6 separate regions of the Homo sapiens genome follow, and all the other regions are linked to region 4. Evidence: promoter capture Hi-C in 16 types of primary human blood cells and fetal thymus (Javierre and others, 2016). All regions are on one chromosome and are shown on one strand. The core of a region is centred on a gene start or on the middle of the fragment in contact, and the rest is flanking DNA. Distances in the headings are between cores, read along the strand shown. Region 1 holds the start of LOC105370802 (a long non-coding RNA gene). Region 2 overlaps TERB2 (telomere repeat binding bouquet formation protein 2). Region 3 overlaps DUOX2 (dual oxidase 2). Region 4 holds the start of AFG2B (AAA ATPase AFG2B). Region 5 overlaps SQOR (sulfide quinone oxidoreductase). Region 6 overlaps SORD (sorbitol dehydrogenase).

Region 1 (4,006 bases), core at 694-3,193, 300 kb before region 4:
AAAATTAGCCCTGCGTGGTGGTGTGCACCTGTATGTAATCCCAGCTACTCAGGAGGCTGAGGCAGGAGAATCGCTTGAACCTGGGAGACTCAAGTTGCAGTGAGCTGAGATCACACCCCTGCACTCCAGCCTGGGCAACAGGCAAGACTCTGTCTCAAAAAAAAAAAAAAAAAAGAGGTAGAATTTAGTTAAACATGCAGAGAGACTACAGAAATTAACACCAGTGACAGGAAAAGCATGAGCAAATACACAGAGGTGAATGAGGCTTCAATCCTAAGTGTAACCAGGGAAAGGCAGAACCCAGGAGTAACCTGGAGGAAGCTCCAGGGAAGCTTGCAAATGCATGTGCTCATACACACCCCATGTGGCTTCCCAGTCACAACTCACCACAGCTGCTCATAGTTTTACAGTTTCATGCCATGTGTATTGATGACCAACGTCTAGATTTTACAAGATTCCCACATTCAAAAATTTTGCTTCCCGTTAGACAAGATGCAGCATAATTTTCAGTTCCAGAAATGTTCTCTTCCTACCTACAGCCCATATTCCCAAGGCTGCCCATCCCCTGAAATAGATAAATAAACAGAAAACAAGGAGGAAGAGAGAGACAAAAAACAAGTAAGGAAAGGGAGAGAGAAACTGAGAGGAGACAAACAGACTGAGAGGAGAGAGAGACACTGGGGAGGAGGAAGACAGAGAAACAAGATGTTTATGTGGGGTTTTTACATTTGTGGAAGGTGCCCCTGAGGAAAAGCGGGAACCACAGGACAACATAGAATAGAAAGGGGAAGAGCGCCCTCTTGTGGCTCTGACCTGACCTTGTCTCTTCCTAGCCACGTGACCTGGGCAAGTTACTGCTCCTTAAGCTTCAGTCCCCCGTAAAACACGGGTAAAATGCGCTCCCTCAAGATGGTCGTGAGGATTAAATGAGAAATTGGATCCAAAATGCCTAACCCGATGTCCGCCTCAAAGAGCTCGATCAATTGTAGTTATTAATGTTATTTTTATTACGATTGTGATTATGGCAATGGGTGAGCAAACTCACCTCAGCAGGAAATGGTATTGCCCTCCTCCCAGAACCCGTAGAATTTAACCAAAAAGACCATATTTAACTTCGAATTACTTTTGTTTCCTACTCTTACCCTTGTGTACATTAAATCTCACCTACCGAAAACATAAGCCCCACGTCTCATTTACAGCTTGTCTCCCAAGCGTCATGTCTCACGCTAGAAATTAGAAATCAGTGTTAATCAGCTTTGCTCACAAATGCTTTATAATTAAATATGGGGCTGAAGTAAAATAATAACATCTTCCTTTCTGTACATTCGTATAGTGGCAAGCACTTACCTTATATTATCTCACTTGCGCACTCCTTTGTTTAAGAGATGTTTATTGAACACCTCAGCCGGAAAAGCAAAGCCCCTGCTCTCCGAGGCTCGGCGTGGAGGAGACCGAGAGCCGTCGGGGGACTGGGTGCCGTAGCGGGGGGCGGGGGGGGGGGGGACCGGTTGCCTTGGCGGAGGCGGGGAACCGGGTGCCTTGGCGGAGGCGGGGAACCGGGTGCCCTGAGGGGACTGGGTGCCGTGGCGGAGCGGGGGGACTGGGTGCTGTTGGTGGGACGGGGGCGGTGCTGGGTGCGAGGGACGGGGGCGGTGCTGGGTGCGAGGGACTGGGTGCCGTTGGGGCGGAGGTGGGGGCGGGGAACTGGGTGCCGAGGAGAGAGAACTGGGTGCCATAGAGGGCCGGGGTACCGGGTGCGGTGGAGTGGCCGGGTGCAGTGAAGAGGGGGCCCAGTGCAGTGGGGAGACCCAGTGCAGTGGAGGGGACCGAGAGCGACGCTGCAGCACAGCAGCGTGAGCTGGACTTTAAGGACTGTTGTTCCCTGAGAGCGCAGAAGAAGAAATCTTTCAGGTCTGTAGTTAGCTCTGGGAAGGAGTCCAGAAGGATGAATAGGAGTTCGCCGAGCGGAAGGGGTGGAGCATTCCAGCAGGGGGAAAGCGCCTGGAAAGAGAGCGCACGGCGCCTCTGGAAGCTGTGGTCCTTGTGCGTTGTGGGCTGGTGGGAAGGTGGCTGGAGAGGCGAGCAGGGGCTCCTGGAACCGGGGGTTCGGGCCCCTTTACTCAGCGCTGACAGTGCGCAGGTGGTAAACATTCACAGCGTGGCGTTACTTCTAACTGGTCAAGCCAAGCGTTTCTAGGCACGGCCTATAAAAGGCCAGGAAGGACCGAGACCCCTCAGGTTTCGCAGCACGCAGGGGGCGTCCGCAGCCCGGGCTCCAGGAACGAGCCAGGCGCTTTCGCGCGCCCTCTCCGCGTACCATTACTTGCACGGTTCTGTCACAGAACCCACTGACAAGCCCTGCGACGTTGAAAGGGCTGTCGTAAGCAGGTGCTGGCAGGAACCATGGTGTTCTCTGGCAAAAAAAAAAAAAACAACAAACCCACCTATCCTCTCTGGAGGAGCAGCAGTTCCCTTTCCTGGCCAGCAGGATGCCGTGCCAGTGTCCTAGGGGACCCTCTCTGTGAACTCGGGCTCCCTTAGACTGGAAGCTCCTCCAAGGCTGGAGCCCGTCTTACTCACCTGAGGAACCTCAGCAGTCGGCCAGGCCCCATGCGATTGCTAATTGTAGAATGAATGAATAAATTAACACTGTTAATGGAGAAGACAGGATGTGTCCACCTTCCTATCCTTGTAGTAAATGTGGGTTTTTAAACCCCACACCTACACCCATTCTCGGTCCATGTGGCTCACACATGGCTGACCTAATCCTCTCCTTCAAGGATGAGCACATGACTGGTTCCGGGAAGCTCACAAACCCAGCTTGAATCCTCAAAGTTCTCACCAGATTTTTACTGTTAACAGAAAAGAGGCATTGTCTCTGGGTCTGTGGGCTCTAGACCAGGAAAGTCTAACCCTGCCCAGGCCCACTTGGTCAACATATGAAGTGAGTCTACCTGAGAAAGAAACCAACACAAAGAAAGTCAGAGCTGAAAGGTCAAGAAATTAAGAAATTAAGCTTCTTGATCCACCCATGCTTGATCTCCTTCCCAGACTTCCTAGATACTTAAACCAATGAAAGTTTTATTTTTATTTATTTATTTCTACTTGGCAAGTGAAATAATTTAGACAAATACATTTCTCCCCTTTCCTTTACTACCTAAGCAGAAATAGGACAGTGCTGAACAGGAAAAGAACTCCGAAGTAATACTGACATCGACAAGTTCTCCCAAGACACTGGGAGAGATTTCAAATCTCAGTTCTACTTCTCCTTTGCCATGTTATCTTGCAAATGTGTCAGGACTTTTGACAATGAACATGTTGTTTCTAATCATAAATAGCAGCCATTTTCTAAATTTGTAAGTTGAATTCTAGAAAAGTTTCATCTTAACCACAACCATTCAAATACTTTTTTAATCAGCTTGAGCTACTATAACAAAACACAACAGACTGGGGTGGCTTAAAGAACAGAAATTTATTTTCTTGCAATTCTGGAGGTTGAAAGTCCAAGATAAGGTGCCAGCATGATTGAATTCTGGTGAGGGCCCTCTTCTTAGTTTGTAGACAGCAACCTTCTTACTGTATTCTTACATGGCAGAGAGAGAGAGCTCTCTGGTTCCTCCCGTTATAAGGACACTATTTCTTTTGGATCAGAGCCCTACCCTTGTGGACTCATTTAACCTTAATTACTCCTGTAAATGCTCTATCTCAAAATACAGCCACATTGGGGTTGAGGGCTTCAACATATGAATTTGAGAGAAATACAAACATTCAGTCTAGAGCAATTACCATGTTGTTTTTACCATTATTGATGTTTAAGCACCTGCAGTATTGTATTTGCACATAAAAATAATTGGAAGGCATTCCTCATTTAGAAGACAATCGTTAACTAGTAGGATGTAACATGGATTAGTAGGCTGTAAGGATGGATTTGTGAGCTGGATTACTACCAAACTGGGGGAAGTAGAGCTAATAAAACCAACTTTGCTGAAGTGAAAAGTCACACAAC
Region 2 (3,778 bases), core at 620-3,119, 430 kb after region 4:
ACAAAATACACATATACATATACAGTATTAAATCTGCCAAAAGAAAAGCATAGTAGATTCTATTTTAAATGATCACAACATGTTTGTTAGTATTCAAATAATTGGGCATCTATTAACTAGTATTTCCATAGTTTACTATAACAAATAAAAACTGATGTCTAGGCGAGGCGCAGTGGCTCACACCTGTAAATCTGGCACTTTGGGAGGCCGAGGCAGGTGGATCACCTGAGGTCAGGAGTTCGAGACCAGCCTGGCCAACATGGTGAAAGCCCATCTCTACTAAAAATACAAATCAGCTGGGTGTGGTGGCACCCACCTGTAATCCCAGCTACTCGGAAGGTTGAGGCAGGAGAATTGCTTGAACCCAGGAGGCAGAGGTTGCAGTGAGCCAAGATCGTACCACTGCACTCCAGCTTGGGCAACAGAACGAGACTCCACCTCAAAAAAAAAAAAACAATTGATGTTCTAATTATACAATTATAAAATCTAAAAAAATGTATATTCTTATTTTTAAAAGCTAAAAGGTGGCCAGGAACAGTGGTTCACGCCTATAATCCCAGCATTTTGGGAGACAGAGGTGGGCGGATCACTTAAGGTCAGGAGTTTGAGACCACCCTGGCCAACATGGTGAAACCCTGTCTCTACTAAAAATACAAAAATTAGCCAGGTGTGGTGGCGAGCAGCTGTAATCCCAGCTATTCGGGAGGCTGAGGCAAGAGAATTGCTTGAACCTGGGAGGTGGAGGTTGCAGTGAGCTGAGATGGCGCCACTGGAACTCTAGCCTAGGTGACAGAGCCAGACTCTGTCTCAAAAAAAAAAAAAAAGCTAAAAGGATCTCAACTAAAAGATCCTATTTTCATTCATGTTTTGAACAGTCACTATTCAAAAATGACAATGTTTACTATACTTAGATCACATATAACTAACAATATAATTGTATAAAAATAAAAACCTCAATAATTAAAAATTGGAGTCATCCTTAAATTTATTATTTTCCTAAAAATCTAGAAGTACACTGAGTAATAGCAAAGGCTTTATTTTCCATTTTTAAGGCCTGGTGCAGTAGCTCACGCCTGTAATCCCAGCACTTTGGGAGGCCGAGGCGGGTGGATCACCTGAGGTCAGGAGTTCACAACCGGCCTGGCCAACATGGTGAAACCCTGTCTCTAATAAAAATACAAAAAAATAGCCAGGCGTGGTGGCACATGCCTGTAATCCCAGCTACTCAGGAGGCTGAAGCAGGAGAATCACTTGAACCTGGGAGGCGGAGGTTGCAGTGAGCCAAGATCGCGCCATTGCACTCCAGCCTGGGCAACAAGAACGAAACTCTGTCTCAAAAAAAAAAAAAAAAAAAAAAAAAGCTTCTATTTCATTTAAACTCTCCCAAAAGAAACTCTACTCATCAGGATGAGGTCCTACAAATAAAGCAAAATTGTGTTCCCAGAAAAGTCAGGGACCACCCACTATTTAATTCTGGCCAAACAATAAGAGATAAAGGGAAAAAAGGAGGGGGGGGGATGAAAAGGAAGAGATGTTGTGAAAGAAGGAATACTTTCATTATTTTATTTTACTATTTTTTTTTTCGGAGGACAGAGTCTTGCTCTGTCACCCAGGCTGGAGTGCAGTGGCATGGTCTTGGCTTACTGCAAGCTCAGGCCTCCCAGGTTCAGGCCATTTTCCTGCCTCAGCCTCCCAAGTAGCTGGGACTACAGGCACCCGCCACCACACCTGGCTAATTTTTTGTATTTTTAGTAGACACGGGGTTTAACTGTGTTTGCCAGGATGGTCTCAATCTCCTGACCTCGTGATCCGCCTGCCTGGGCCTCCCAAAGTGCTGGGATTACAGGCGTGAGCCACCGCACCCAGCTGGAATACTTTCATTATTAACAAATGATATGACTGTGCACCCTGAAGAGCCAAGAGAGAATCGATTAAAATATCCTTAGAATCAATTAAAATATCCTTAGAATCTTAAGGAATTCCAAATGGGTAGATATAAGACCAATATCCTCATTTCAATAACTCAGAGTGGCTGCTTTCGCTGGTTAAGTGGAGGTATCTTCAGGGAAATCTGAACCCGTGATGATCCCTGGCAACCCGATCTGTTTTTGGCTGTTTCTAAACATTAGGGAATGGAAACTCCGTGGCGGCTCTAAGTAGCCTGGTTTCAGGCTCTCATGGATGCACTGATAGAAGGTGACACCTGTATGCTAAATTATGAGAAAACCCCAGCAACTCCAGTTTCAACATATTGAGGAGATGCTTCTGTTGCTTCCCAATTTGCCCATATGAAGACATCAAAAAAGGACTTAAGGATTCAGAGAAAGAGAAATCTTATGTTAAAGAAAAGAATTAGATTTTTGGAAGAAAAGCTTATAGGAGCTCAATTAGATGAAGAAACAAGTTTTGTGGAATACCAACAAGTAAATAAGGCCTATTCTGTATATTGAAAGATTTGCATTGAGAGATGATTTAAAGAGCAAATTGGATAAAATGAGTAAACACAACTCTGAATCTTTAAAAGTATTGAATAAACAGATGCAATCTAAAGAAGTAGAACTCTAGCTAAGGACAGAGGTGGAAACTCAGCTGGTGATGAGGAATTTCAATCCACCTTCATCAAACTGGGAGGTGGAAAAGTTAAGCTGTAACCTGAAGATCCACGGTTTGGAACAAGAGTTGATGAGGAAAGAAGGTAACGATCTCAAAATAGAACTACTCAAAAACCAAACAAACCTATCTGTATGAGGAAGACAATCTTGAAGAGCAGAGATCTCTGAAGAGTAAGAACTTCAAGTGATAATACACAGAATGTATACTGGCAACTGAAGAGATAAATGTCTAATTTATATCTGGTGACTCAAATGCTAGCTGAACTATTAAGAAAACTGGAAACCCCAACTGCAATCAAGAAAGCCTGCACCTCAGTAAGATGCATTGAAGACCCTTGGAAAGACAGCACAAAACTGCACATGATGAATTTTACTGCAACATACACAAGACATCCCCTTCCCTGACCAAATGGCAAAGTTCTTTTTTATACTACATCTTCCTCTTTACCAGGAGATATAAAGGTTTTATCAGAGAAAGCAGTCCTCCAATCACGGACAGATAATGAGAGAGCCATTCCTAATGAGGGCACACACTCTTATGGCAGAAATTCTCTGGAAGATCATTTTGAGTATTCCCAATCCCTCCTGACTCAAGTGAGACAGCATTTAGGGAAATTAAAGTAAAATTTTGCCTTCTAACCAATGTGCCACTACTGCATTACTTGGATCAACATAATAAAAATTTCCTTTATAAGACTTAACTCTGAAGAGACTCATCATTTGATCACAAGGACACTGTCTCTCAGTGGTTCTCTCAAGAAATTACTTAACAAACTAAACGTAGATTTTGATTAAAATTTTGTAGAGTTCTTTAGTATATGCATTTGAACATACTGTATGATATTATGTAGTTTATTTCCAATATGAAAGAATACCCTCCAGCTCCATATTCTAAGAAACAGATATATGCTACTAATTTTTTTTTTTTTTTTGATACATGGCCTCACTCTTTCACCTTGGTTGAAGCACAGTGGAATGACCATAGATAGCTCACTGCAAACCTCAACTCCTGGGCTTAAGCAATCCTCCTGCCCCAGCCTCCCAAGTAGCTAGGACTACAGGAGTACACCACTACACCCAGTTAATTTTTTTTTTTTATCTTTTGTAGTGACTGGCTCTCTCTCTGTTGCTCAGACTGGTCTTGAACTCCTGGCCTCAAGCTATCC
Region 3 (3,875 bases), core at 911-3,410, 300 kb after region 4:
TGTCTGAGTATTGGGGAGGGGTGGTACCACAATCTCTTTGGTGCTTAATTAGGTCTCTAAAGGTTTTCATTCAGCCCTGTCTTGAAACTAGGGAGGCATAGGACAGGGAATTTACTGCTTGGTGACTAGAACAGTCTTGAGTCTTAGAGGAAGGGTCTTACTGGAAAAACTGGCTCTGATCACCCATGGTGACATTGGCCTTGCAGCAAGGCAAGGTCAGCATGGGCACAGATCTCATGTGGATCACTGGGGGTAGCCAGGAGGGAAGAACCGTAGTGCCAATAGTCAGATACAAGGCTGCAGGGCAAAAAAGGATGGAGAGGACAAAGCCCATAGTCTAGTCTTCTCTCCTCTTCAGATTACTGGCCTGGCCCTGGCAAATTCTCCCGTACAGACTATGTGGCCAGCAGCATCCAACGTGGCCGAGATATGGGGCTGCCCAGCTATAGCCAGGCCCTGCTGGCCTTTGGGCTGGACATCCCAAGGAACTGGAGTGATCTCAACCCTAATGTGGACCCCCAGGTCAGGAATAGTAATGATAATAATGGCAGCTAAAGCTTTCCTATGGCAATACTGTTCCAAACCCTTTACATATGTTGACTCATTTAATCTACATAATAATATTGTAAGGTATGTATAATCATTTTCCCCATTTTACTGATGACATAGTTGGTAAATCATAGAGGAGGGACTTAAATTCAGCCATCTGATTCCAGAATATATTCCTAACCACTGCATTGTACCATTCCTGCAGGGTGGCTTCTGGGTTGGGTGCCATTGTCCTGTTGCTGCAGGGTCCCACCCCAAGGGCTGTGTGCCCCTGAAGCTGCTAATCATTGAGGTCAGGCAGGCTGGTGATGGTCACAGGATATGGTCCTAGGGCACCTGACCGTGGTGTTACCGTGGGTAGGGACACACTGATCCTTCCACCAGACTTGTCCTGCCTGAGGGGGCTTGCCTAAGAAGAGGAAATCAGGCCTGAGCAGCAGCCAGGCAGCGGCTGAGGTTCTGTGCCCGAGGGATGGGGCAACAGTGGCTGCCCTCCGCAGCAAACATACGCTCACCCCTTATCTCCTGTGGTGCCCCAGGTGCTGGAGGCCACAGCTGCCCTGTACAACCAGGACCTATCCCAGCTAGAGCTGCTCCTTGGGGGGCTCCTGGAGAGCCATGGGGACCCTGGACCCCTGTTCAGTGCCATTGTCCTCGACCAGTTTGTACGGCTGCGGGATGGTGACCGCTACTGGTTTGAGAACACCAGGAATGGGTAAGGCTTGCCTGGGCCCCCACCTCAGACTGCTCCTCAGCCTGAGCCCCAGACCCTCTGTCTAGCCTTAGACAGCCCCTATGAGCCCTTGATTCCCAGTCAGCCCACCACACCCTTCCCAACCCCTCTGGGTCTCTCTTTTTTTCTTCTCTTCTCTTTTTCTTTTTCTTTTTCTTTTTTTTTTTTTTTTTTTTTTGAGGCAGAGTCTAGCTTTGTCACCCAGGCTGGAGTGCAGTGGCGTGATCTTGGCTCAATGCACCCTCTACCTCCCAGGTTCAAGTGATTCTCCTGCATCAGCCTCCCAAGTAGCTGGGATTACAGGCATGCACCAACATGCCCGGCTAATTTTTTTAAAAAATATTTTTAGTAGAGATGGGGTTTCACTATGCTGGTCAGGCTGGTCTCGAACTCCTGACCTCAAGTGATCCACTCGCCTTGGCCTCCCAAAGTGTTGGGATTACAGGCATGAGCCACTGCACCCAGCCCCTCTGGGTCTCTTTTCTCACCTGGGTCCTTGGGCCTGGGGTTGCTGGAGGCCTGCATCCCCTTCCCATCCCAGTGACTTCTACTTCCTCCAACTTAGGCTGTTCTCCAAGAAGGAGATTGAAGACATCCGAAATACCACCCTGCGGGACGTGCTGGTCGCTGTTATCAACATTGACCCCAGTGCCCTGCAGCCCAATGTCTTTGTCTGGCATAAAGGTGAGTGCCGTGGGAGAACACAAGTGAGTGACAGTGGCCAGAGAAGGATCAAGATTGAGGGTGCGGGGGAATCACTTGGTGCTGTCCAGGGAGCCAGGCACCTTCTGTGTTGGGCTAGGAGGCCTGCATTTGGCTGGCTCCCACAGCAGGGACCTCAACTAGCACACAAGCTACACCCTACAGTCAAGAAGGGGTGGATGGGGTAGATGCCAAGAGACAGGAAATGAATGGGGACTTTTTGAGGGAGACAGTTTCAGGGAGGTGGGCCTGGGGAAGACAGATGATACCTTGGTCCTTTATAGGATAGAGGGGAAAGAGGTCTGGCCACATAGCGGGATCCTCAGACTTTGAGGTCTTCCCTGCCCTCTCCCTCAGGTGCACCCTGCCCTCAACCTAAGCAGCTCACAACTGACGGCCTGCCCCAGTGTGCACCCCTGACTGTGCTTGACTTCTTTGAAGGCAGCAGCCCTGGTTTTGCCATCACCATCATTGCTCTCTGCTGCCTTCCCTTAGGTGAGCTCTTAGGCAGCCTCTCTGCAGACTGGCCCTGCCCCTCATTTCCTGCTGGCCTGAGGGGCTGGCTATTTGGTACCGTTTGAGACCAGGCTCAAGGAACCTCTGGAAGGGAGGGGCCATAGCCTAAGCCACAGTGGAGCTCTAGGTGAGGGGCTCCCTCCTCACTGTTCCTTCTGATCCACTTCAGTGAGTCTGCTTCTCTCTGGAGTGGTGGCCTATTTCCGGGGCCGAGAACACAAGAAGCTACAAAAGAAACTCAAAGAGAGCGTGAAGAAGGAAGCAGCCAAAGATGGAGTGCCAGGTGAGCAGGGGCTGGGCAGAGGAGGGAGGAGGGACGGAGGAGGGGAGAGACAGGAGTCTGGGAGAAAGAACCAAGTTACAGAGTGAGAGGAAAGCCAAGGCACCTTTAGGGCGCCTGCTCAGACTCACAGAGGAATTGACCTGAAGGCGGGGACCTGGGGACATCTGCTGAACTACCCGGCCCAATTATCCCTTCCCCAGCGATGGAGTGGCCAGGCCCCAAGGAGAGGAGCAGTCCCATCATCATCCAGCTGCTGTCAGACAGGTGTCTGCAGGTCCTGAACAGGCATCTCACTGTGCTCCGTGTGGTCCAGCTGCAGCCTCTGCAGCAGGTCAACCTCATCCTGTCCAACAACCGAGGATGCCGCACCCTGCTGCTCAAGATCCCTAAGGAGTATGACCTGGTATGGCTCGTCCTGCCTCCCCAGCCTGGGCTGCCCTCACACGACTCCATTATCACAAGCGAGGCCACCCTATCCTCAGCTACAGAGCTCAACTATGACAGCTGATGCTGGGGAGAGGGGCTCCTTTCAGAGGCCCCCAGACACAACCTGACCCCCTTCGTCCACACACCTGGCCCCAGCCTGGATGGATGGGGAGGAGTTTTCTCTCCTCCCCTCAACCCAAGATCCATTGAGGGGAGGCTGAAGCAGAAGGTCCAGCGAGCTCCCTGCGTCAGTGCCGCCTTCCTCCCACCCAGGTGCTGCTGTTTAGTTCTGAAGAGGAACGGGGCGCCTTTGTGCAGCAGCTATGGGACTTCTGCGTGCGCTGGGCTCTGGGCCTCCATGTGGCTGAGATGAGCGAGAAGGAGCTATTTAGGAAGGCTGTGACAAAGCAGCAGCGGGAACGCATCCTGGAGATCTTCTTCAGACACCTTTTTGCTCAGGTGCCATGACCTGTGCCTTTTGGAGATGGGTCCAGCCCCAGAAATGGAGGAAACCTGGGCTGCATAGAACGCCCCTGTGGGTGAACTAAGCTTCCGCTCTATGGCCTGGAGAGAAATAGCCTTGTTTGAATCCTGGCATTGCCACTTTACTTAGCTCTGTGACCTTAGGCAAGTCACATTATCACTGTTCTGTATCTCTGTTTCCTC
Region 4 (3,814 bases), core at 1,169-3,668:
CTCACTGCAACCTCCACCTCCTGGTTCAAGTGATTCTGGTGCCTCAGCCTCCAGAGTAGCTAGAACTACAGGCATGTGCCACCATGCCCGGCTTATTTTTTGTATTTTTAGCAGAGACGGGGTTTCACCATCTTGGCCAGGCTGGTCTCGAACTCCTGACCTCAGGTGATCCACCCACCTCAGCCTCCCAAAGTATTGAGATTGCAGGCGTGAGCCACCGCGCCCGGCCAAAATAATAATATGTTTTTTATCCTGACAAACATGTACGACAATTTAGTGAACCACTTTGGAACTAGTACCGTGCACTTTACGTATACTTTAGATTCTGAATATACGAAAATCCTAATATTCCAGAGGAGTAACACTGGCTAGAAAGTTGCACAATGAAAATTCTATGTCATTTAACAAGTTTTTGTTATTTTTAAGAACACACAAAGTTCTAGAAGCCAGGTATAGATAGCTAGGTCCCTGCCCTTAAGGACACAGGTACTAGATAGTGCAAGGAAGAAATCCACTCAAGTCCTGAACTAACTGAGCTAAAAGTGTGTAATTATCATTTCTCTTTTGAATCCTATCACAAAATAGAAATATCAGTCACTAAATTTCAAACTGTTCTTTAGAATTCAAGTCAATTTAGGACCAAAGCTTAAAATAGGACAGCTCTGAATATTCAACCTCCCTGACAACTCAGGGAGCAGTTGTGGGTACCTCCTCAATTGTGGAATAGGATGCTGGTGTTATGACAAGGAATGAATAAATCCAGAAGAGTTAATGCCTGCTTCCATTTAGTTCTTCCCCACCTTCTCCCTTTTTATTTCAACACACTTACTTCTTGAGGCTATCCTTCTTTAAATTCTCATTCCAAAAAATGAGTTTAACACGCTTGTAGGTGACCAAAATTCTCTTAAGAATTAACATTACTGATTATAGGACCTGCACAACAAAATTAATCTGTAATGGACACCTCGCTTCCCAAAACAATTAGACTCTGGGGAAACAGGTCCTGACTCTCAGATCCTGACTCACAGGTCCTGACAATTTGACTCTGGGGAAATACAGGTCCTGACTCACAGATCATATATCGGCAGAGAACGTGTTCTCTGCATTGCAAAGAGCCCCAACTCCAACCTCACCGATGCTCAAACCTAAGAGGCAAACGCCTCCGGGGCAGCCAAATGGCGCCAGAAGCGGCCGAGGTTCCACCGACAGTGGGCAAACCCGCCAAGCCCATTCACCTCTCGGTCAAATCTCCCGGGCCTACGCAGCGCTGGGTCTAGAGCGTCCGGCCGGTTAGTGGCTCCCACAACCACGACCTCGCGGTCCCCACTGGCGCCGTCCAGCAGCGTCAACACCTGGGCCACTACGCGGCTCTCGGGTGCTCGACTGCCCCGCTGGGGACACAAGGCGTCCATCTCGTCCAGGAAGAGGAGGCTGGGTCCGCGGCTGGCCAGTTCCCGGGCGCGCTGGAAGACCCGCCGCACGTTCTCCTCGGTCTCCCCAGGCCGGGAACCCTGCAGCGCCGGGGCGCTGACTGCCAGCAGCTCCGCGCCCGCCTCGCGCGCCACGGCCCGCACCAGCTGGGTCTTGCCCACTCCGGGGGGCCCCGCCAGGAGCACCCCGCGAGGCACCGCTAAGCCCAGCGCGGTCAGGGCGCGCGGGTAGCGGAGCGGGAGGCGGAGGAGCTCCCGCAGCGAGTCGGCCGCCTCCGAAAGACCTCCCAGGGGCACCTCGGGCTGCGGCTGGGCTTCCGACGGAGGCTCCCCGCCAAGGCTGACGCGGGTACGAGGGGTGACCAGCCCAGCGGGATCGGGACTGGGCGTCCCGCCGACGATGTGCAAGGCAGCCACCAGGCCAGGAGCGCCTGGCGGAGCGACCACCACGTGGCCCAGGGAGATCGGTCGGTTTCTCAGCAGCTCCTGTGCCGCCTCCAGCACCGCGGCTGTATTCCGGGCACCGGGCGCGCCTGCCCGCTCTCGCAACACCGGCCACACGGCGACGCGCCGCAGGGGCGGACAGGGCACTAGGAGGAGGCGATTCAGGCTGAGACTCCTCCGGGATCTCGACGCCCCGACCGCCGCCCCGGGGCTCGCGCACAGCGGGTCCAGCTGCACAAAGCCGTCCGCTCCGTCCCGCCGAGGCCAGGCAGTGCAGAGGCAGGAGCCGCCGTCGGGTAGCGAGATCTTCACTGCCGAGCCCAAGCGCGCGCCCAGGGCGTGGAGGGCGGCCGGGCCCAGGCGGCAGCGCTGGGTGCCCCGGTCTCTAGCGTCTAAGGGTAGCAGCTTTAAGAGCGGCCCTTCAGGGAAGGGATCCGAGTCCGGAGCCATCGCACACAGATGAACCAGGCAGACGAAACCAGATTAGGAAACCCACCCGGCCCACAAAAAGCGGAACACCGAGCTCGCAGGCCGGAAGCAGATTGCGCGCATGCGCTAGGGCAGACTGCGTTGCTAGCAGCTGAGTGAAGGCCGAAAGGGCCAATGGAAACGTTAGACGACGCTCGGGCCTCTGGGTAGAGCGTTGGTGTCCGCTTTCGTGAAATCGAGTTGCCTAACCCAGAGCTTTCCCGAGATGGTCTTCGTTACAGGTGTCTGGGAGGCGGCTTAAGCTCACTTCACTAGGTCATTAAGCATGTACTTTGGTGGTTACATATATCTTGGAAGTCACCGGCTTTACATTCTGTTTTCCTGGCCTTCGAACTGGAGCATCAGTACTACCGCCGTTGGAATAGCAACCTAGAGACTTTGCTATTTTGTGAAGAAACTCTAACTATCCGCATGGGCACAGAATTTTGGGTGCTCTGGTGCAAATGTCTCAGGTGACTTGGCGTAACTGAGAATACAGCCTTGGGACCTTCGGTAATCGGGGTTCCAATCTGGGAGGTCCAGGCACAACCCTTCCTATGGGAAAGTACCAGCATAGTGGGAGGGAAGCACACGGTAGCGCTTAAAATCCCTTGTAGAGAGGAAAGAAGGAAAACTAGGCTACCTGATGGATTTGTAGCACACCAACAGTACATTTGTTCTGATTTCTGATATTCTTTTGAATATTCTTTGGCAACAAGTTAATCACTAAAGTTCATGCGATCAATGCTTACTGTCTAATTGGGGCACAACAGTACTAAGTCCTGTATTAGAGGCGATACCTATCTACGTTATTAAGACAACTGCCTGCTATTTTTTTTTTCCAGCTGCTTTCTGCCTTTCCCTTTCGCACAGGGAATTCCTTTTTATCAGCTGGAATACATTTTCTATCCCTCTTAATTGCCGTTAAAAAAGAACTACAGATACTCAAAGACAAGAAGATATACCTTGTTTTTATTTGACTTACATCTTCCTACCTCTATTTTCCCCACTTTCACTGCAACCCAAATTTGTGAGTTGACAAAACTGATATTTTAGAGTGCTTAAGTTGCTGGGAAGTTTTTTTTTTCTATCTATGCAAATAATCAATTACAGACTGTGTAGTAATATCTTATCAATGGGAAGTACTGTCAGATCTGGGATCTTAAGACCCATGCCAGTTCCTGATCTCATTCTGTCCAAACTTCATGGCAGACATGACAGACTTCTTGACTTGACAGTAACTTACCTGGTCTCAGCTGTACTTGTCTGCTTAAATCGATTCTGGAACAATTTAGGAATCAGAAAATAGCAGGAGGAGGTCTTGAAATGGATAAGTCACCCATTACTTCCTGTTTTCTTTTTTCCTCTTAATCCCATTGGCTTCAGTTCTTTTTGGTTTGGGGACTTTTAAATAACAGCTTTGCATTTTTTGAAATAAAAAAAAAGCCATCGTTTTTACCGACCCCTAAAGG
Region 5 (3,674 bases), core at 286-2,785, 270 kb before region 4:
TTCTTAGAACCCCTTTCTTGTCAAAATGAATATAATAAAGCAACTAAATGCAGCATTTGCTCTTGGCATAGATAAGCCAGCGTAACACAGAAACAGTTTCACACGGTACCTTCTCATAGTCCAGCTGGATTCCGAGAGCAATAATAAGATATCGGTAGGAGATCTGCAACACAAAAAGACATTATTTTAGACCAGGACTCAAGAAGCATCAACTCAAGGACTGACTCAGGCCCCAGATGTGGTTCCATGTGGTCTAAGGGAGGCAGGGAAATATTATTAGCCCATAGAACAGATGAGAAAATCGAAGCAGAACAAGGTTGGGAGTCCTGCCCAGGTTCCCATTTTTTAATCTGAATGTCTTGGGGCTGGGGGAGGTGGGCAGACTGGCAGGGAGGGATGCGTGTCCACTCCCATCATGCCCTCTGCCGTCTATGCCTCACACCTCACTGCTTCACAAATATTTTGTAAGCTGCCTAGCCCCAGAAAGCTTGAGACAGCTATGTGTTTACACAGTGAGAGGCCACAATTATTTGTACAGTGCTTGTATTAACACTTTTTCATATTGAGAGGTAAGAGAAGGGCTTCCTAATCTTAAAAGACAATCCACTGTCTAAAATCTATGGGGTAGGCCAGGCACAGTGGCTCACACCTGTCATCCCAGCACCTTGGGAGGCCGAGGCAGGTGGATCACTTGAGCTCAGGAGTTGGAGACCAGCCTGGGCAACATGGCAAAACCCTGTCTCTGCAAAAAATACAAAAATTACCTAGGTGCGGTGGCATGCACCTGTAGTCCCCAGGGGGGCTGAAGTGGGAGAATCGCTTGAGCCTGGGAGGTGGAGGTTGCAGTGAGCAGAGATCACACCACTGCACTCCAGCCTTGTTGATAGAGTGAGACCCTGTCTCAAAAAAAAATTAAAAAAAAATAAAAAATATATATATAAAAAATATATATTAGTATATTGTATATTAAAAATAAAAAACTAAAATCTATTGGGTAATATGTGAGTCCCAAGCAAGTCTGACCTGTCATGTGGATTGGACCAATATCGTAATTGGGAGATTGCTCTTTTGAGCAATCTCAAGGTCATTGAAAGGCTATGACATAGTGTACCTGATCTTATTTAATGACCTGTATGGGATGAAAAAAGTCCCTTCTTCAAATACGGGTATTGTATGCATAAGTAGCATGATGGAAATGTGGGTTTAGGACAAAGAGGAAGACAAGTTTAGGCCAAAAAGTGTAAACAAAGTGGCCGTAAAGTACAAGAACTTGCCTAGAAAACTGGAGTTAGGAAATGATTGCAGTGAGACTCAGGAGCCCAGAAAGAAGAAACAGGTGGTGATTACCATGATCCTGTACTAAATGGCAGAGCAGAGCAAGCAACCCGAGCGAATCGCAGTTGGAGAGAGAGGACTCCAAGACCTGAGAGTGCTTGGCTCTGGCTGAGGAGCCAAGGGAAGTAACGTGCAGTCAAGAGGCCCTGCCCTGGCATCCGGGAGCTTCAGCCCCAAAGCCACCTCCACAGCAGGCTTTCCCACTATGACACGATCACCCTCACCACTGGCCCCTCCCAGGAGCTCCCCAGCATAGTGTGCATGAGGCTTCCTAGCACTTGTTCTCCCCAGCACACTGACCACTCCTAGAGGATAAAAGTTATGTCTTATTCCTTACATTCCTAGAATCTAGCACAGTCACTAAATTAAAGTGAGGAACTCTGTAATGTTTGGTGGGTGAATGGATAGATGAATGATTTCAGTTGCTTGTGAAAAGTACAATTTCTCTAAGTGGAAGATAATATAAGCATTTTCATCTGTATGTTTTGCCTATCCATAGAAAGATGATGTCTTGGCCAGTGCAGTGGCTCATGCCTGTAATCCCAGCACTTTGGGAGGCTGAGGCGGGTGGATCAAAAGGTCAGGAGTTCGAGACCAGCCTGGCCCACATAGCGAAACCCTGTCTCTACTAAAAATACAAAAAATTAGCTGGGTATGGTGGCGGGCGCCTGTAGTCCCAGCTACTCAGGAGGCTGAGGCAGAAGAATTGCTTGAATCCAGGAGGTAGAGGTTGCAGTGAGCCAAGATCACGCCACTGCACTCCAGCATGGGTGACAGTGAGAGACTCTATCTCAAAAAAAAAAAAAAAAAAAAAGAAAGAAAGAAAGAAATAAAGAAAGATGATGTATTGAAATTCCATCTTCTGTAGGAAAGGGCACCAGGCCCGTTAAATGGCCGGCCAAACCATGTTGAGCAATCCGGGCATATTAGGTAAGAGCTAGCATGGGGTCTGGTAGTGATGATCTACAGGTGAAACATATGACCACTGGAAACAAGAGGAGCTTTTGGTTTGTGCAGGCCACCACCAAACATGATGCAAATAATATTGATTATGCTCTATTTTATTAGAGCATAATATTCATTATGTCTAAGGACTAAAAACATGCCAGCTTAAGATTATGGGGAAAAAATCATTAAGAGAGAATAAACCCTCCATAGCAAGAAAGCAAGAAGAAAACCTCAAGCCTTTTGAATGAGTTCAAGTTTTCAGGTCAGATGACCTAAACCCCCAGGAACAGCAAAAGCTTATAGACAAGACTTTTGAGCAGTTACGCACAACAGTGTAGACCTTGCCAGAAGGCTGAATATCTGCAAGTATTCTCATATTACACAGGGGTCAGAAGACGTAAACTCTGACACGAACATCTTAGTAAATAGGCTATTAATCCTTTGCAAAACTCTAGACTCAACTACTAAATAGACATTTCATAGTAATTTTTTAAAAGATTAGCTGGGCATGGTAGTGTGTGCCTGTAGTCCCAGCTACTCAGGAGGCTAAGGTAGATCGGCTCAGAACTCTTGAGCCCAAGAGTTCAAGGAGCAGTGAGCTGTGATCTCACCACTGCACTCCAGCCTGGGCAACAGAGCAAGGCTGAAGGGAGAGGAGGGGAGGGGAGGGGAGAGGAGGGAAGGGGAGGGGAGGGAGGAAGGAGACAAAGAGAGGAAGGGAGGAAGGAAGGAAGGGAGGGAGAGAGGAAGGAAGGAAGAAAGGAAGGAAGGAAGGAAGGGAGGGAGGGAGGGAGGGGGAAGGAGAAGGAAGAAAGAGAGGGGAGGAGAGGGGAGAAAGGAGAGGAGAGGGGAGGGGATGGGAGAAAGGAGAGGAGAGGGGAGGGGATGGGAGAAAGGAAAGGAGAGGGGAGGGGAGAGGAGGAGAAAGGAGGGGAGGGGAGGGGAGGGGAGAGGAGAGGAGGGGAGGGGAGGGGAGAGGAGAGGAGGGGAGGGGAGAGGAGAGGAGGGGAGGGGAGAGAAGGGGAGGGGAGGGAAGAGAAGGGGAGGGGAGGAGAGAGGAGAGGAGGGAAGGGGAGGGGAGAGGAAAAGGAGCACCAACATAGGTTCACAGATGATAAGCCTGCTGCTTTCAATCAGCAATCAAGAACTGCTGGCATATAGTAGATACTCAATAAATATATCCTTTTCCTTTTTATGTATTCTTTTAAAAATAACAGCAACATTTATTGAGCATTTACTCTGTGCAAGGTGCTGTTCTAAGTGCTTCATATGGTTTCATTCATTTAACACTCACAACAACTTCATAAGGTATCTAGGTACTATTATTATTATTATTTTACAAATGAAGAAACAGACACAATTTGCTCACAAATATTTACTGAGCACCTTCT
Region 6 (4,315 bases), core at 353-2,852, 380 kb after region 4:
TTTTTCCCTTTAATTTATTGTCTCCTCATATAGCTGATCATAACAAAAATCTGACTACATCCCCTCCATGGTGTTGTTTCCTGGAAATGGAGCCTGTTTTGTTCCTATACTTCTCCCTGTTCAGATGCTCCTGCCTGAAGGAAGAGCCAGCTTTCAGGAAGAAGGGAGATAAAGTGCACTCAGAGGGTGATTGATGAACTGATTTGTAATGCAATGTACAGAAATTGAGAGGAGCATTTAGAAATGTTTATATAATTTTTTTGTTTGTTTTTGTTTTGAGATAGAGTCTTGTTCTGTCACCCACGCTGCAGTGCAGTGGCATGATCTTGGCTCACTGCAACCTCTGCCTCCCCATTCAAGTGATTCTCGTGCCTCAGCCTCCTGAGTAGCTGGGATTACAGGTTGTGCACCACCACACCCAGTTAATTTTTGTATTTTTAGTAGAGACAGGATTTTTGCCATGTTGGCCAGGCTGGTCTCAAACTCCTGGCCTCAAGTGATCTGCCCGCCTTGGCCTCCCAAAGTGCTGGGGTTACAGGCATGAGCCACCGTGCCTGGCTGTTTATAGCATTTTGACGTGACACAGCATTCAAATATATTGATGCAAACATATCAGTCCATGGCCGACTGGAAAAAGTAAAATTGGCCCTTCATTGTGGACAGTTTGTAAAGCCCTGTATTAAAGTTCCCAGCACATGCCTGGAATGCAGTAGGCAGTCAATATATTAATTCCCCGCATTTCCTTACCATTCGAGTGAACCCTACATTGTAAAAACAAGCTTCCCACCACCCCCACCACCAAACATAGCTTCTATGGGGTAAAAACTAATTTGACTATTTTATATTCTAACTTCATGAATCCATAATTCATTTCCTAATTAAAAGCTTCTGGGTCTCAATAGACTGATCAAAGGGGCATACAGTAATTAAACTGGTAAATACAGTGGAAAGCAAGATTATTGCCTGGGCCCACATTATAATAATTTGGTTAGGAAAACTGTTCATGTGTTTGAAGGCCCTGGTCTCCATCCACCTCTTTTTAAGCTGATATGGTTTAAGTGTCCGTCCTCAGGGGCTCTGGCTTCCTGCTTATCTCCACAGTTAGCACATACCATTAACAGTGTGCTAAATGCTGTGCTAGGCCTTTCACACGCACAATTGGTTCCACTGAATCCTCATACAACCAAAGATGAATACTACCATTATCCCCATTTCACGGGGAAGTTGAAGTGGAAAATAATTTGTTGAGTCATACAACTAGCAGCAGTAGAAGGGGGACTAAACCCCACTCTGGCTCCCCAGCCTGGTTTGGGAACTTCGTACTATTTCCATTTAGAGAGAACCCCAGCAAGCTGACACTGTTTGCTTCTTTATACATCAACTTGGTCATCAGTCCCTTTTCCTCCCTCCAACTCTCAAACTTTCTCTATTCAAAATGAAGGGAAAAGCGAAAATCCTTAAGTCTCAGATTGTTGTTTCGTTTTGTTCTCCTAACTATAAAAGAAAACCACTGGTCTTAGTGTGTGTCTGACTTACCACCCAATTTATAAATGCTCCTCCTTGCTGTGGTCAAGGTGATCATTAACTAATTAGTAGGTGAGGAGTTTAATTTTTTGTTCCGTGCAGCCATACATCAAGAAAGAAGAGAATGGTGCAGTCTCCTTAGGCAGTAGGGAGGCTGTGTGGTAGGTTTCCTTCCTGCCAGTTAAAGGACAAGTAAAGTGGACTAAGGTCGCATTCCCCCACAGAACCACTGCCCCAGACGCTGGCTGGTTCCTGGCCTTATCTCAAGTAGGATGGCAGCAGTGGGAAAGGTTGAGACATTGCTTCCTGCTTCAGAATGCTTTGGAAACCTGCTTCAGATTTTAGGAATGATTTATACACTTTTTGGAAAGCAAATAATGATGTAAGTTAAATGATACACTTTTCCCTTGAAAATTTATACATTTTTTGAAAAGATCTTAGGAATGAGAGTTTCCCCAAACAACTCCCTTCATAGGAGTTCCTGAGGCACTGAACCATTTTATCAGTAGACCCTGCCCCCCTGTATACCTAAATCGGCCACAGTTTGCTGGGCTGCAGTTCCCCAGCCAGCCAGAAATGGAAGGGTTTTTAATCTGTGGCTGGTGGTCTTACATCAAAAGAAGAAAACAGTCAAATTCTCCCCACTTCCTCTTATCTTTTTTGTAGTTCATATCCAACCAAGGCTTTTTTCCCCCCAAAATGCATTTGCTGACAATTTATTAAGCCCAGGAAATTCTGGGTTTCATTTTGGTCCTCTTGCAGAGAGGAAAATGGGTGGTTCCCCTCAAAGCTTCCCCAGGATTGTTCCTCCTAGTTGCTATCTCTGGTTTACTACTGACCCCAAACCCAAGCCACTGAGCCTATTTGTCTTAAGGAAAAGATGGAGGAGCAGTGATACCACACTCGGGGTCTGGGTTGGGCACTGTGGAGGTGCTGGTGGAAGACCATGCCTGAGAAGGAGTGGCGAGGGCCCAGAAGGTCTGTGTTGAGCTGCAGGTGCACCTGAGGCAGCACAGTGGGTCTCCTCTGCTGACAACTCTTTCTGCCCTTTCCCCTCCAGTGTTGGGGCTCTCTCCAGGGTAATGTCCTCCTCTTCTTTCCTTCTCACTCTACATGGTTCACTCAGCCCAGGCAAGCTCAGCCATCCATAATTCCCCATAGGGCACTATTTGGGACAGGACAACTCTTTGTTGTGCAAGATAGCACTATGAACTGAATAAAGTCCGCAGTAGTGCTCCTCAGTCATCGTGACAACCAAGCCTCCCTGACACATTTCCAAATGTCTCCTGGGTGGCGGGGCAGTGCAGTACTGCTCAGTAGAGGAGCAAAGGACTCCTGAGTTTACATTTCCACCCCTGATAGTATCCCTGCACTCCAGACCCCTGCACCCAAGGAAATTTCTCAAAGGCACCTTGTGTCCTGTCCCAGAGACATCTTTTTTTTTTTTTTTTTTTTGACATAGTTTTGCTGTCATTCAGGCTGGAGTGCAGTGGTACGATCTCAGTTCATTGCAATCTCTGACTCCCAGACTCAAGCGATTCTCAGCTTCCCAAGTAGCTGGGATTACAGGCATGTGGCACCACACCCAGCTAATTTTTGTATTTATAGTAGAGACAGTTTCACCGTGTTGGCCAGGTTGGTCTCAAACTCCAGACCTCAAGCGATCTGCCTACCTTGGCCTTTCAAAGTGCTGGGATTACAGGCATCAGCCACCACACCTGGCCTCCAGAGACATCTTAAACTCAACTTTTCAAACCTGATCTCATCATTTTAATCTACTCTGACTAGTAAATGACGCTACCACTTCCCATTCTCAAACTGAGCCTAGGTGTTTTCCTAAATCCTCCTCTGAACTCTTTTACCCAGCTAGTGTTCCAGCACACAACCAAAGGTGAAATTCTCTAGCCCATCATATTTTCTAGATACTTCAGGTTACAGCCACCCCAACCTAGCCCCTAATCCAGTCAGAGAGTGGGTTCTAATGCAAAGCTGATGAGATCAAGGTTAGTTCGCTGCTGCTCTAATCTTCAAAGCTTTGTCTACGGAACCATAGTAGAGGTAGTCTGCCTGAGCAGTGGAAGACCATGAGTTTGAGGTAAGATGAAGGAGAACTTAACTGTGTTTCTGCACCTTAGGTGCATGACTTTTAAGCAGGCTCTGAGCAGATAGAGGGCCAAGGGCCCCTCCCTGTGGCGTCTTTTCTCTCTGAGGCCTCCATCAAAGCCCTCGGGCTCTGTCATAATTGTTGACTTTATCTGTCTGCCTCCCTCAGTAAACTTGGGAGCAGGGGCTGTGTCCTCCTTTCTGGGCCCTCAGCCCAGTGCCTGGCACATGGCAGGCACCCTTTCATGAGTGAATGTTTGTGGAATGAAGTACTGAGTTGGAAATCACTCTGCAAGCTGGGTAGAGCTGGACCACTTTCCCTTACTCATAATACCATCTGGCATTTGCAACAGTAAACACTAACAGCCTCACTTTAATTCAGGACCTTGGGTGGAGGCTCCAAAGAGTGGAATGAGCACTAGAATGGGGAGTCTGAACATCTGAGTCCTTGTCGTGGCTCTGTTAACTAACAAAACCTATCACCTTGGGTATGGTACTTTCTTCAACTGAGGAGATGGAGAGTCAGCTGGGACAAGGGTTCTATAGAGGGGCTTAGAGCGGCTTAAAGGGAGTCCTTGAGCAGTCTGAAATTGTTGCCAAACTCAGTCTATTTGCATTCTGTGGAGGGGACACCACAGATTCTTAAATAGTCAAGAACTGCTAACCTGGATAAGCTTCTGAATTACTG

The links. The method cuts DNA at HindIII sites, captures the fragments that hold promoters and counts their contacts. A CHiCAGO score of 5 or more calls a contact.
Region 1: a fragment that was not itself captured here is called in contact with the fragment with the promoter of AFG2B in region 4 in 2 of 17 cell types (monocytes and total CD8 T cells); the score reaches 6.2 in monocytes.
Region 2: a fragment that was not itself captured here is called in contact with the fragment with the promoter of AFG2B in region 4 in 1 of 17 cell types (M2 macrophages); the score reaches 7.5 in M2 macrophages.
Region 3: a contact is called between a fragment that was not itself captured here and the fragment with the promoter of AFG2B in region 4, in 3 of 17 cell types (naive B cells, activated CD4 T cells and total B cells). The highest score is 7.5, in naive B cells.
Region 5: a fragment that was not itself captured here is called in contact with the fragment with the promoter of AFG2B in region 4 in 1 of 17 cell types (M0 macrophages); the score reaches 5.9 in M0 macrophages.
Region 6: a contact is called between a fragment that was not itself captured here and the fragment with the promoter of AFG2B in region 4, in 1 of 17 cell types (total B cells). The highest score is 8.1, in total B cells.

Annotation. Positions count from the first base shown.
Region 1 is chr15:45,702,631-45,706,636 of GRCh38, reverse strand. LOC105370802 (a long non-coding RNA gene) reads right to left here and starts at 1,442. Exons shown (of 5, transcript NR_135680.1): 1 at 1,348-1,442. It overlaps LOC124903484 (a long non-coding RNA gene), which reads right to left. Exons shown (of 2, transcript XR_007064617.1): 2 at 3,454-4,006. The HindIII fragment of the contact is 2,150 bases long and covers 869-3,018 here.
Region 2 is chr15:44,969,564-44,973,341 of GRCh38, reverse strand. The region is part of intron 5 of TERB2 (telomere repeat binding bouquet formation protein 2); the gene reads right to left. It also overlaps the pseudogene LOC100187725. Among named protein-coding and RNA genes, the nearest start is that of TERB2, 15 kb to the right of the region's middle. RefSeq lists a silencer at 1,110-1,288. The HindIII fragment of the contact is 1,011 bases long and covers 1,364-2,374 here.
Region 3 is chr15:45,105,436-45,109,310 of GRCh38, reverse strand. It overlaps DUOX2 (dual oxidase 2), which reads left to right. Exons shown (of 34, transcript NM_001363711.2): 12 at 359-522; 13 at 1,089-1,264; 14 at 1,848-1,966; 15 at 2,342-2,479; 16 at 2,670-2,783; 17 at 2,984-3,186; 18 at 3,483-3,668. Among named protein-coding and RNA genes, the nearest start is that of DUOX2, 6.8 kb to the left of the region's middle. The HindIII fragment of the contact is 3,201 bases long and covers 560-3,760 here.
Region 4 is chr15:45,400,940-45,404,753 of GRCh38, reverse strand. AFG2B (AAA ATPase AFG2B) reads right to left here and starts at 2,418. Exons shown (of 8, transcript NM_024063.3): 1 at 1,236-2,418. The coding sequence starts at 2,324. It also overlaps a transcript of GATM not described here. RefSeq lists silencers at 1,586-1,735, 2,126-2,205 and enhancers at 2,286-2,445, 2,836-2,905, 2,916-2,965. The HindIII fragment of the contact is 3,246 bases long and covers 648-3,814 here.
Region 5 is chr15:45,666,417-45,670,090 of GRCh38, reverse strand. It overlaps SQOR (sulfide quinone oxidoreductase), which reads right to left. Exons shown (of 10, transcript NM_021199.4): 4 at 110-163. Among named protein-coding and RNA genes, the nearest start is that of SQOR, 33 kb to the right of the region's middle. The HindIII fragment of the contact is 2,092 bases long and covers 490-2,581 here.
Region 6 is chr15:45,024,289-45,028,603 of GRCh38, reverse strand. The region is part of intron 1 of SORD (sorbitol dehydrogenase); the gene reads right to left. Among named protein-coding and RNA genes, the nearest start is that of SORD, 3.3 kb to the right of the region's middle. RefSeq lists a silencer at 2,608-2,896 and an enhancer at 4,040-4,315. The HindIII fragment of the contact is 1,429 bases long and covers 888-2,316 here.